Linked DNA regions of Homo sapiens: all the other regions are linked to region 1. The links are contacts of gene promoters, found by promoter capture Hi-C in blood cells and fetal thymus (Javierre and others, 2016). All regions are on one chromosome and are shown on one strand. The core of a region is centred on a gene start or on the middle of the fragment in contact, and the rest is flanking DNA. Distances in the headings are between cores, read along the strand shown.

Region 1 (4,416 bases), core at 699-3,198:
GGGGCTGAGCCTGGAAGAACTTTCCATCCAGCACAATCAAGGAAGCCTTCTCTCCACTTCCATGTTTACCATAGTCAAGAGCAACACAGCCCAGGAGGGGCCTCCAGAGGCCAAAGCCCCCTCCCCATGCTGGGCCTCGCTCCTGCCCCTCCTCGCCTGAACAGTTCTGTCATGTCCTCTTGATTCTGCTATGCAGGGCCAAAAACATGAGTGAGTCAGCAAAGAACGGGTCACCAGATCCAAGAGTCCCGGCAGCCCCCGAGGCCAGCCACAAAGCTTCAGTTCCCTCCACAGATGCCAGCTCACTCTGTGGCCTCCTCTCTCTGGGAGCCTTCCCAGATTTACCCCAACCAGTGCCCCTGTGTCTGTGCAAATATCTCCCCCAAATCTCACGTCTACTTGATGTACCCCCCAAGTGCCACCAGAATGGGGGTGTCCTCGGCATCCTGTGTCTCCCTAACACCTGCAGAAGCCAATGGATGCCAGTAAAATGGATAGGGGCTAAAGTGGGAGGAGGCCCTTTCTGCTGCAGGGGGCAGTGTGGTCTGAGCACAGACCACATCCTGGGCACATCCTAGTGCTAGGGTTCCCTAGCATCATCTGGACACTAGGATATGACGGATGCACCCCGGGTTCCCTAGGATCCCCCAGCACAGCCTGATCCAGCGTCTGGGCCCTGCTGACAAGGCTTTGAAGCTGATCCTTCCCACTCCCACTGACTCTGATTTCTCTTCTATCGCTGTCTGTGTTTCCCACTGAGTAGAGACAGCTGCTCAGCTGTGTCCCTAAGGCCAACCATCAGGGTAATGAATAAATGAATGGGCACAAGCCCTTGTACAGAACTTGCAGCACATGACCACCCAACTAGAGCACATCCTCAAAATCTGGGCCACAGATGGGGAAACGGGAGCCCAGACAGGCGGAGGAGTTAGGTGAGACTCACACATCAGAATGACAGCCTGGGTTCCAGCAATAAAGATGGTGAGCATGGCTGCCAAACACGGCATCCAGCCAAGGACTTCCCCTTGGACCAGGACACAGAAGACAAGGGAGGAGCAGAGCCCTAGCAGGATACTAAATGGGTCTATGTGACTTTAGGGACCCTCTGCTTTTGGACTAGCCTGGAACCCAGGTTCAGTCCTGCTGACCTGGCACTGGAAGGGAGGCAGGGTGCTGGCACCCACGAGCAAGCCACAGCCAAGCAGGTAAGAATTAGTCTCCTGCTGAGTTCTCATCACCCCTCAGGCCTGGGGACAGGGGGCTGGCCTCCATGGGGTGAGGAGGCAAAGTCTAGGGAAGGGAGCAGGTCCCCGTGAGGATAGAATTTACCCACCAGCCATGGACCTGATCCAGATGCAGGCACTGCGGCCTCGGTGGTAGGGAACTGGCTTCTTGGGGACAGAAGTACTGTCACCACTGGCTGAAGGCAAGGGACTGGCCCCATGAGGTGAGGGATGCCGCAGTAGCCAGCTCCCAAACAGGGTACTTGGCCCGCAGGGCGGTGCTGCAGCCTCGGGAGTAGCTGACCCCCAGAGAAACGGGCGTTCCCACCCGGCAAGAGGCCGGTCCCGGGAACAGGCGAGGTCCGGCGCCCACGCATCCCCCTCCCCCGATGGCCCCGCGTGGGGATAAGCCAACCCTTACCCAGTCTCGCGGATGGCGTTGGTGAGGTTGGCCCAGGCCACGGCGTCAGGGTGGCGTCCGTCCACCATAAGCAGCTGGCCCGCCGAGACGTCCAGGAGCACCGAGCGGCTGCGGGAGGCTGGAGGGACCTGCCCATCGCGCGCCCAGCGGCCCCCCGGCGCTGGGATCGCCCCCGCCAGGCCGCTCAGGAACGGCCCGACCAGCAGGGCCAGCACCAGGGCCAGCGCCAGCGCCCGCGTCAGCGCCCGGGCCAGGTGGCTGCCGGGGTAGCAGTACATCTGGCCCACCATGACCGCACAATGCTGCGCCCCGCAGCCCGGGTCACGTGACTGCGCTCTGCCATGGGCGGGGCCGAGGGCGGGCGGGGCCGGGCTTGGGCTGAGCCTTTCCGGGATGGGAGGGGCTGGCGCGAGGGGAGGCCTACGGGGCGGGACCCACCTTAAAGAGCCCGGCCGCCCCTTCCACCTACGCAAACCCGGTTTAGCACACTTCCCCAAGTTTTTTTTTTTTTTTTTTTTTGAGACAAGACAAAACCTCCATATGTCGCCCAGACTGGAGTGCAGTGACGCGATCTCGGCTCATTGCCACCTCCGCCTCCCGGGTTCAAGCGATTCTCCTGCCTCATCCTCCTGAGTAGGTGGGATTACAGGCGCGCACCACCACGCCCAGCTGATTTATGTAATTTCAGTACAGACGGGGTTTCGCCATGTTGGCCAGGCTGGTCTTGAACTCCTGACCTCAGGTGATCCGCCTGCCTCAGCCTCCCAAAGTGCTGGGATTACAGGGGTGAGCCACCGCGCCCGGCCAGATTTATTTAATGGTATTTGCCATTTATTTAATACAGTTATCTAATGCAGTCTTTATTCCAACTTTTCCCATTGTCCCTCAAATACCCTTTTTACATGTGTGTGGGAAAAAGCTGTCTAACTACTACTCAAAACCTAGATGCCGTCGGGCGCGGTGGCTCACGCCTGTAATCCCAACACTCCAGGAGGCCAGGGCGGGCGAGTTCAGGAGTTCAAGACCAGCCTGGGCAACATGGTGAAACCCCCGTCTCTACTAAAAATACAAAAAAGTAGCCGGACGCAGTGAGGCGCGCCTATAGTCCCAGCTACTCGGGAGACTGAGGTAGGAAAATCACCTGAGCCCGGAAGGTCGAGGCTGCAGAGAGTCGAGATTGCACCACTGCACTCCAGCCTGAGCAACCAGAATGAGACCTTGTCTCAAAAGAAAAAAAAAAAAAAAAAAACCTAGATGCAATAAAAGATTAATGCATTTGACTGTATAAATTTTTTAACTTTTTCATGTCAAAAAACTCAATAAGCAAAGTCAAAAGACATCTGACAGACCAGGAGAAACTATTTGCAACATATATCATATATATACATTACATATATATATGTATATATATCTCAACATATATCATATAATATATCAGGAACTCTTAAAATTTGAGAGGGAAGGCCAGGTGAGTGGTTCATGCCTGTAATCACAGCACTTTGGGTGGCCAAGGTGGGAGGAATGCTTGAGCCCAGGAGTTTGAGACCAGCCTAGGAAACCTGGCAAGACTCTGTCTCTATAAAATATAAAAATTAGCTGAGCTTGGTGGTGCACACCTGTAGTCCTGTTGTGGGAAACTGAGGAACGGAGAGACCAATATGAGAGAACAGGAGGATGTTTATTTCAACGTACGCACTGGCTCAGTGGATTCACATCCAAAAAGCTGAGCCTAGAACAAAGATATTGTGGGGTTTTTATAAGCAAGCTTAGAAAGGTAAAACAAAAGTAGTTAATCATATAGTGCATAACTTGTGGCCTTGCATAGCTGGTGGCCTTGTAGCTGCATCAAAAGTAAAACAAGAACTGGCTAAATAGAGAGGTTTGTAAAACATAGTCATGCTTAAGAGACCAAGGAAAGGAATAGCAATAAAATAATTTGTCTTTCTCTCTTTTTTTTCCTTCAACCTTGCTCTGGAGGCGGGCGGTGGGGTGGAGGGCGGGGTCTGGAGCCCAGTCCTCTGGCCTTGGCTTTTCGGACAGCGTTATCTTATAACTGTCCTTGAAGTGAGCTGCTAAGCAGAGGAAAACTTGTTCTTCTTCTTTTTTAACCCTTGCCTTGCCACATTCTGGGCCTTAGCTCTTACTTCTCTTGGAGTGAATATATGTAGTACTTATTATTATTATTATTTTAATTTCTGCCTCAGTCCCAGCTACTGGGAGGCCGAGGGGGGAGGATTGCTTGAGCCTAGGAAGTCGAGGCTACAGTGAGTTGCACTACAGCCTGGGCAACAGAGCAAGAAGTTGTCAAAAAGGAAAGAGAGAGAGAGAGAGAGAAAGAGAGAGAAAAGGAAGGAAGGAAGGGAGGGAGGGAGGGAAAGGGAAGGAAGGGAAGGAAGAAAGGAAGGAAGGAAGGAAGGAAGGAAGGAAGGAAGGAAGAAAGAAAGAAAGAAAGAAAGAAAGAAAGAAAGAAAGAAAGAAAGAAAAGGTTTGAGAAGGAAAATGTGAAAACCAGACAGAAAACATGGGCAAAAAGCATCAGCAAATAATTCATGAACAAAGATGTAGAAGTGACCATTATATTTATGAAAAATGCTTGCTTCATTCACTATAGGAGAAATGCAAATTAAAGCTACACTGAAAATAAACATTCAGAGAAATATATGGTGAGAGAGCGTATACCCTGAATGGTACATTCAGGGTAACATGAAGCGATGCTCCTAAGTGCCCAACCTCAATCTTCGGGTGAAAACAAACTCTATACTTAACCATTCA
Region 2 (4,416 bases), core at 644-3,143, 580 kb before region 1:
TCCTGGGTTGAAGCAATTCTCCTGCCTCAGCCTCCCGAGTAGCTGGGACTACAGGCGCCCACCACCACGCCTGGCTAATTTTTTTGTATTTTTGGTAGAGACGGGGTTTCACCATATTGGCCAGGCTGGTCTGGAATTCCTGGCCTCAAGTGATCTGCCTGCCTCAGCCTCCCAAAGTGCTGGGATTACAGGCATAAGCCACCACGCCCAGTCTAAGATTTTAGTGGAATAGACTTTGCTGTACCTAACCTCCCCTGCCTTGTCCACATTTCTCATTTCCTTGTTTCACTGTGTATCTTCAGGACTGGCTCAGCCAGCGCAAGGCATTCAGGAAGTGCCTGTCTGGAGGCCTGTTTCAATCAGGAAACAAAATCCTTCAGTCCCTTTGCGATCTGAGGACCCAGAAGCATCCCACATCGTTGGGGTTAATGATGATTGGTGTAAACCTTGTGAAAGCCCGACTCCTGCTCGTTTATGAGTTAAGCTCTCTCCACTCAGTTTGGATCAGGGTCTCCTTCAAAACCTGTGCCTGTTCCCATCAAAACAAAATTCTCTTCATGTCATCCTGGCTTGTTCTTAACTGTCTCCCCCAAATCACAGCTGCCTTGATTTTTACTTCAGTTACCACCCTTGAACCTAAGTAATGTTTTTTTTTTTTGGCCCAAAGCGAGTTCTCCTTTGAAACGCAGAGATCAGCCAGGGCTGAGCGGCACTGAAAACAAATTGGTGGAGGCCTCTTCCCGCAGCCTTGGGTGGCAACAGGAGGCAGGCTGGGGACACGTGGTGGCTCCCAAAGTGACCGCTTCCACCAGGCTCTTCATTTCCTTGTGTCCTGGGGATTATCCCTCTCTGCTGTCTTCTTTTTTCTCTAACACTTGTCACAATTTCTATTTATTCTGTTTATTTGTTACTTGTATTTGTTTCCTATCTCAGCCAGACTTTGAGCCGTGAAGGCAGGGAATGGGGCTGTCTCCTTCACTGCCCGGTACCCAGCACCCCGGGGGGCCCAGGCATAGGGAAGCTCGGTTCACAGGTGTCAAGGGAGTGAGGGAATGCATGAGAATCTGCCTCTCTGTTCCTTCGAAAGATGAGGCCGGGTCATATTTGTCTTTGTGTCCCAAGGCTCTGGCACACAGTAGAAGCTTAGTTAGGTTTGAACGTTTGGTTTTCGTTGTTAGCCCAGCCTCAGAACACAGTGGTGACAATAACACCATCAATCAAAATAATAGAGGGGGCTCCCATTTGTCCCCACTCTCACAAATGGCCCTTTATTTTATTTCAAATGCTTATCACTTCCTGGAATTGTGTCATGAATGGTTCCTTTCCCCGGTGTTGCTCTGTCGGACTCTGCCCCTGGAATGGCCACTCCACATGCCGAGACCCCATTCACCTTGCTCACGGCAGTATCCTAGCACCCATGAACGTGCCCCAGTGGCTGATAGTGATCAGGAAGTGTGTGTGAGTGAACCCAAGAGCAAAAGCAGCAGTTATGCCATGCTAGGCATGGTTCTAAGTCCTTGGCATCCTCATCATGTGAGGCCTAGAGCCCCTGGGGAAATGGCCCTGAGATTTCCAGTAAGCAGCCATTCTGTGACTGGCCAAGCCACCTGCCTCTCTGAGGCTCAGTTTCCATATCTGTAAAACGGGCATGATATCCGCCCCGCCCTCTGAGGGCGTGGTGGGATGTCACATGCACATCACCAGTCTTCCGCTGCTGTTGGTGACTGAGCAATATAAATCACAGTGCATCTTGGGAGGCTGAGGCAGGAGGATCACTCGAGTCCAGAAGTTCAAGACAAGCCTGGACAGCATGGCAAAACCCTATTTCTACAAAAAATACAAAAATTAGCTGGGCGTAGTGGTGCATGCCTTGTAGTCCCAGCTACTCAGGAGGCTGAGGTTGGAGGATCACTTGAGCCTGGAAGATGGAGGCTGCAGTGAGCCGAGATTGCACCACTACACTCAGCCTGGGTGACAGAGCAAGACCCTATCTCAAAAATTAAATTAAAATTTAGAAAAATATGGCACAGTGGATAGTCTTTAACTCACCATGGGCACCAGCCCCAAGCCAGCAGCCGAGCTGGGTGATCAAGATGGACACCACACAGATGCACAGACCCCCTTCCCCAGGAACTTTTGAGCTGTGGAGGACAATAGAGCTGTTGGGGGACAAGTGAGATGTCACAAGTAGTAATAGAAGTGGGCCCTGAGTACAGAAATGTCTGCATCACAGCACAGGGTGCATCACGGAGATAGCATGCTGTGGTTTACGGTCAGAGTGTTTTCCCACCCCCTGCCCGCGGGTCCCCCTGCTTCCTGGGTCTACATTGTAGGTTTGAGCATGTGTCCAACAGCCCCTACCTCCCAGAGGGGCTGCTTTCCAGGGCCTGACCATGACTCACACAAAGAAGGCCTTAGAGCCCGGCCGCTGGGCCTCCTTTGGCCCGGGAAGTTGTGCGTGTCTGTGCTAATTCCAAGCCCCGCTGTGTCCCGCGTCATCGGTGAATTCCCACAGAGCTGATCTCCAGGGCCTCCTCCTGCCCTCACTGCACGCAGCACATGCACAGCCCCTCCTGGCGGGTGCTGTTCTTTTCACCTGCTCCTCCCCCACCCCCACCCTCTTTGCATTGTTCCTGAAGCTTCACCAAATCCCCGACTCCCCCGTTGTACGAGGACAACGAGGGCTGGGGGGACTCAGCCAGCCCACAAAGCCCTGGATTTTCTCAGGCTCCCAAGGAAGAAGAGTAGGAGGGGAGTGGACATACCTTTTTTTTTTTATTTTACCCCCTTCCTTTCTGCAAAGCTCTCCTGTTCTCTGTACCAGTCTCGAGGGAGGGGGACAGCGTGTTTTATCTCCCCACAACCAAGACCCTCACCTCCAGATAAAGGGCTCAGAGTGGGGGGAGGTCCTGAAAAGCTGCTTGCAACTGATAACAGTCTTTGCTGTCAGCTCCAGCGCCGAGAGCCGGGAAAGGGGAGGAGGCCGCAGTAAATTCTGTGGCCTGATTATAATAAAGCCCCATGTGGCGATGCGTGACTGGATTTGATTGTGCTAACTACAGATGGAAGCACAGTTCCCCTGCCTCTCCCAACCCCCTCCAGCCCACCTTGCTTTTAGATCCTTCCCCCAACTCCCCCGCCCCCAGGCCTAGCCCTGATTCCTTTCTCACTTCTTCCCTCTTTTTCTGGTTCCTGGTGTTTTTGTTGGCAAACATCTGTTTGAGTTTCACAATACCTTATTTTTTTCTTTCCCATCTTTCTTTTGTCTCCCAACTTGGGGCCAGCAGCAGAAGTGCTTTTTAAAATGACCTTTGGCTTCATGGCCTTGGCTCCTGGCTGTCTCCACGCCTCTCTGGACACAGCCTGGCCTGGTGACTCGGGGAGCAGTAGCTGGCTGGCAAGGGTGCCCAGCTGTGGACTCGGACGCCTGGCACTGGCTGGCCTTCCTGGGAGCCTGAAGCCAGCAGCTTACCCTGCAGGGAGAAGGAGAGGGAGGGCCGAGGGCTCCCCACACTGGGTTGTCTTATCTCTCCCAGGGTTAGGGATTTCCAACATTTTCCCCTGGATTTCTCTCTCAGCAAGGCCTGCTGGGCAGTGTGGGTAGCAAGGGTAATATTAAGAACGAAACTGTTCTCTCCCAGTGCTCGCTGCAGGCCCAGGCTCAGGTCTTGCAGCCTGCTCTGCATTCATTCTCATCATCGTCCTGCAAGTAGGCACCATGATGGCCAGCCCCTTTTTAGATGGAAAGAAGGAAGCACAGAGAGTTTGCATGACTTGAGCAAGGTCACACATGTGGAGAGAGCCGGGATATGACCTGAAGCCATCAACTCTGAGGCCTGTGCTCTTACCTAAGACCTCACAGCTCTTCTCGATCACAATAAGGGCTATTTCATGATCGCTGTGTTCTAGGCACATGCTGAGTGCCCAACAGACTCATCGCCCACAAGTAGATCTGTTCTGAGCCCAGTGCTGGAGATTCAGTGCCAACTGAGTCAGACTGGGTCCTGTCTCGAGCTCCCTGTGTAGTTGGGGAGCACAGATAGAGGAGCAAACTGCTCAATACAGTGATGATGGAATAGGACAGGGCTCTGAAAAGAAGAAAGCAGAAGAATGGAACAGCGAGTGGTTGGGCCCAGGCTGGAGACTGCTTTAACTAGAGTGGACAGGATGAGCTCCCTGTGGGGAGGCTGTGTGAGAAGGAGCCAGGCCTGGGAAAGCAGCAGACCAGCAGAACAGGCAGAGGCCAGCAGGTGCAAAGGCCCTGTGGTAGGAAGGGGGCTTGGCAGGCTCGGCCATCAGAAAAGAGACCAGTGCGTTTGGAACGGAGGTGACGGGAGAGAAGGGAAAAGGGTGAGGGATGAAGTCAGGGAAGGTGGCGAGCCAGGGAGAGGGGCAGAGGGCACAGCAGCAGGGAGT
Region 3 (4,416 bases), core at 720-3,219, 560 kb before region 1:
GGCTGCCATTTTAATGGAGACAGGGAAGGCCTGTGAGGAGGTGACGTGGAGCAGGCCTGAAGGAGGTAAGTCCTAACATGGTCATTATCATAACAGCTGCTGTTTATTGAATGTTTACCACATTCTGGGTCCAGTGCTGAGTCTGCTTATTAAATCTTCAAACAATCAAATTAGGTGGGCCTATCATTACACCCATTCTACAGTGGAAGAAATGGAGGCCCAGAGCGGCCATGTTACTTGCCCAAGATCGCAGAGATCCTAAGTGTCGGATTTGGCATTCACACCCAGCTTGTTAACTCCCAGCCTTGCTCACTTCCCTACCCTGTTTTGGTGGAGTGGGAGGTTTCCCTGGGAGAGCAGGGAGACAGGCCAGGTAGCACTGCATTGGGGATGGCCTTGAACCTGGGCTGAGAGTGTCCTTGCTCGCCACCTGGTCCATCTGCATGGTTAGGCCCCCGCATGTTCCTCCTCGGGTTATTGATGAAGTGTCACAAGACCTTTGGAAACCAACTGGGGTCTTTCTTTGCAACTGGAGAGAAAGACACAATGGAGATTGGGTTTGGTGAGAAACCAGCCCCACCCTTAGCGGGGCTCCTTAAGTCCCTGGTGGCCCCGGAGTCTCTCAAATGAAGGTCAGCAGCCACCCAAGCACGGATGTGTCCCCCTGACGTCTGCAGCTGTTTTGGGTCCTATCACCTGGTGGGAGACGGCCTTCCTCTCCTTTCACGTTGGTCCCGCACCCCACGCACACTCCTTGAATCCATCACCTGAATATTCTGATGGAGGCGTAGTGGAGTCAATGTTGGGCAGGAGCTGCTGAAGCTCCGAATAACTTGGACCCTCTCCCCCCACCACTCCAGGCCAGCCGTGACATTGGCTCGGAAGAAACAAGTTCCCAGAAAGCAGACCACCTCCAAGATCCTGGTGCGGAACATCCCCTTCCAGGCCCACAGCCGGGAGATCCGAGAGCTCTTCAGGTGAGAACTTCAGGTTTAGTCCAGGGGACTGGCGTGTGGGCGGGGAGCCTGCCCGAGTCTCAGGGAAGATGGCCTTTGGGTCCTGGATGGTTCCGTTGCAGGCCGGCACAGTGGTCTTTCAAAGGTCATCTTTTGGCTGCTTTTGATTTATCTCCCTTAATCTCAGATGTGGCTCCCCAGAGCACTGTGCAGGAAAAAAGTCAAAACAGCCAGGCTTCCCCCTCTCCGAGGCAGATGGAGAAAGGGCAGGCAGGCTTCCCTGTCCCCATCCACAACGTGCAAGAGGGGCAGGGGCCCCAGTGGCTAAAACCCAGCCCTACCCATGATCTGCTTGAAATTTCCTCCATCCAGGCTACCCCTTTGGTTTAAGGTGCTGGTTTTCCACCTTAGCCACACATTCCAGCCACCTGGCAATGGCTAAAATACACCTTTCCCGAGGCTGCACCCCCAGAGAGTTGGATTCCATTTTTCAACAGTGGGGTCTAGACATCGGTGTTTTGCTAAAAGCTCCCCAGGGGATCCTAATGTCCAGCCGGGGTTGGGGACCAGTGGCCTAAATGACTCTATGGAAATGAAGGCGAATTACCTGCACACATAAAGCAGTCCGTCAGCACCTGCTTGCACAGGGGTGGAAAATGCAGCTGTCGCAGGGACCCAGCCGGTAACGGCAGCAGGCTGGGTGGGGACTGAGCAGCAGGCGGGCCTCTCTCTGGTCATCCAGCTGGGATGCCATGCAGGAACTCAGGCTTCGTAAGACCAGTTCCCATGTTTTGAAAGAGAAACCAGCCATGTGGATTCTTAAGGAGAATTCATCAGCAACTAATTCACTTTTTAAAAACAAAACAAGTCTGGCCTGCCCCAGGGCCCCTAGTTGGTGATCCCTACGCTGCCATGTTACAGTGTTTGGCTTTTCAGATTAGGTAGGCACCACCCAGCACCAAGCCATGAATGAAAGAAACGTCCTCATATCAGGGCCTAAGGGGAATGCTTGAAGCCAAGGCCCCCCCACCCAAGGCATGGGCAGGGTAATAGAGAGACCATCTAGCTCTCAGAATGCAAAGGCAGATGAAGTCAGCTTCACCTAAACACATTGTTGAGGCTTCGGTGGGATCCAGGACTGCTCGGGGGACCTGCAGCACCATGGCCTGCGCGTGGGTGAACATTTAGGATTCTAGACACTAGGTCTCGTTCGTTCATTCTACACTTGCACAAGGGTCCAAGAGTGAAGCCTCTGTTAGAGTTGCCAGTTAGCATCTTGCAAGGTAATCTGTGGTTACAAAATCAGCCTTGTGTTTTGGAGATGAGAAACAATTATCTTTGTGTGGCATCTACCTTCTTTGCTCTCACTCTGTAGTTTGAAGAATAAGAAGTCATGTGGGGAACTTCAGATATCTTTGTCCTCCTTTTCCCCTCTGTTTGTTCTAAATCATACACTAGTATTCAGTTCATAAACAGATGTGGTGTGTGGTGAGCTGGGATCTGAGGCAGAGACCAATCCTGCCAGTATCTGGGAAGCAGGATCTTAGCTATGATCTCCGGGTATCCTGCACAGCAGGAATAGCCTGGCGAGATGGGGTCATGACCTGGGGGGAGGTTTCCCATTTCCCTAAACCTCGACTGATCAGTCGTCCCTCCAGGAAGGTACATATCCTTAGCCTCTCGGTATGTCTGCTTGTTTAAACATGCTCTGCTTTTTAAAAGGAGTCCAACTTAAGAACTGCCAGATTAAAACGGGCTTGCTAAGAAGAGCGCATGTTGATCGGGAAATAATATCCCGCTGAAATGACAGTTTCACTTGGTTCTGCAGTATATTTAGGATGACACTTATCCGGGGAAACAAAAGACCACAAGGGAAGAGAGAGCACTTTGTGTGATCTCATGTATTATATTTATTTTTAGAAGACAGGGAATTAGTGTCCACTGAACATAATTACATGTGGTGACTCTTCTCCTTGCCATTGTTCTGATGAGAGTTTTCTTAAAACCCTGGAAACGTAAGACCTTCTTGGAGGGCCGTACCTGCTATTGTTGTTCACTCCGGCTGGGGATGTAAGGCAGTTCCTCGTTGCAGACAGCAGGGGTCGCTGTGAGCCTTCTCAGGGACTTCAAGATTGTCCAGGGAAGCCCCAGACAGGATTTCAGACAAAGCCACTGGCCGGTAAAGGTCATTAGCCAGGGGGAGGTTTCAGGGTTTCGGGGAACCAAGCTGGTCCATTTGGGCAGGCAGGTTCTATGGGTTTCTCCTACCAGGTGTAGTAAAAATCACAACTCCCTTTTATTACACGCTTGCTGTGTGCGGGGCTCTGAGCTTGAATGCCTTCCCGTGCAGAATCACCTCTTTTAAGCCGCACAGCAGCCCTGCGAGGGATGGATGCTGTCATTCCTTTTGCACCCAGACAGAAACTGGAGATGGAAACTAGGGAGATGGAGTGTCCTGCCTGGGACCATGCCGCTGAATGGGGATTTGGATCTAAGTCAGCCTAACCCAGAGCCCCGGCTTGGAGCCACTCCTCTCTGCTGCCTGTTTTCTTGGGTCTAGAAGGAACTGTCTTCCTCCAGATCATTCCAGTGGGACCAAATGACAGCGAGTGTGTCATTTATACCAGGCACTGTGCTAGGCACGAGGCATGTAGCCATTTCAGGAGAGACTCAGGTCTCTCTGTGGGGGACCAGAGAGGAAACTGACAGGGACAGCCAGTGGGACAGGTGTGCAGGTGAGAGTGCAGGGCTCCGGAGAGCATTCTCTGGGCAGGGCCTCAAGCTACCCCGCCTGCTGGAGGGGAGAGAAGGCAGCCTCCTAGCCCGAGGCAGCAGTGCCTGGGGCCCTTCCCGGAGGCCACCAGCCTTCCACTCGGGCCTCAGTGCACCACACTCCAGCCCCTTAACTAACCAGCCTTGGGTTAAACCAGACAGGCATCAGGAGGCACTGCATTTCCATGTTTCTGTGGGATCACTGTCTAGGGTGACTCAAGGATTATGCTTTTGGAAACTCAGAGAGAGGCACAGCAGTGGATTTGCAGACAGCGATTCTCGTCTTCTCTGTGGCTCTCTTTTCGGACTTCAGTTTCCCCTGGCATAAACTAGTGGTAGTAACACTAGTGATAACATACACTAATTTGTGATGATGCTGTGGTAATACGTGTGAGTGTTGATTTCTTTCTCATGTCCCCGGCCCCGTGCGCTGCAGTGCCTCATGTTTCTGGGGGCCCATTCATCACCGTGGCCCGGTAAAGTAGTTTCATGTCTCTGTTTCTCAGTGAAGAAACCAGCTCCAGAGCCCAAATTCCACCCACTGGGTCATCAGATGCCTCAGGCCACCACGCTGCTCATCGGCCTCAAGGACTATAAGGATTAAATGAGATTGTACAAATGAGGCACTTAATCCAGCCCCTGGCAGAGTAACAGGTAGTTAATAAATGTTGACTGTGGTGTTCAACAG

The links. Contacts are between HindIII fragments. The CHiCAGO score rates a contact against its expected background, and 5 or more counts as called.
Region 2: a contact is called between a fragment that was not itself captured here and the fragment with the promoter of PLBD2 in region 1, in 1 of 17 cell types (erythroblasts). The highest score is 7.0, in erythroblasts.
Region 3: a fragment that was not itself captured here is called in contact with the fragment with the promoter of PLBD2 in region 1 in 1 of 17 cell types (endothelial precursors); the score reaches 5.1 in endothelial precursors.

Annotation. Positions count from the first base shown.
Region 1 is chr12:113,356,119-113,360,534 of GRCh38, reverse strand. PLBD2 (phospholipase B domain containing 2) reads right to left here and starts at 1,948. Exons shown (of 12, transcript NM_173542.4): 1 at 1,645-1,948. The coding sequence starts at 1,934. It overlaps LOC105369989 (a long non-coding RNA gene), which reads left to right and starts at 1,025. Exons shown (of 3, transcript XR_945346.3): 1 at 1,025-1,205. RefSeq lists an enhancer at 690-1,189 and silencers at 1,525-1,584, 1,635-2,134. The HindIII fragment of the contact is 3,133 bases long and covers 279-3,411 here.
Region 2 is chr12:113,931,549-113,935,964 of GRCh38, reverse strand. All of the region lies in intron 16 of RBM19 (RNA binding motif protein 19), which reads left to right. Among named protein-coding and RNA genes, the nearest start is that of RBM19, 33 kb to the left of the region's middle. RefSeq lists a cis regulatory region at 2,918-2,935, a silencer at 2,813-2,991 and enhancers at 2,854-2,998, 1,714-3,644, 3,248-3,931, 3,932-4,416. The HindIII fragment of the contact is 1,497 bases long and covers 1,145-2,641 here.
Region 3 is chr12:113,911,530-113,915,945 of GRCh38, reverse strand. It overlaps RBM19 (RNA binding motif protein 19), which reads left to right. Exons shown (of 24, transcript NM_016196.4): 21 at 861-977. Among named protein-coding and RNA genes, the nearest start is that of RBM19, 53 kb to the left of the region's middle. The HindIII fragment of the contact is 6,170 bases long and covers 1-4,416 here.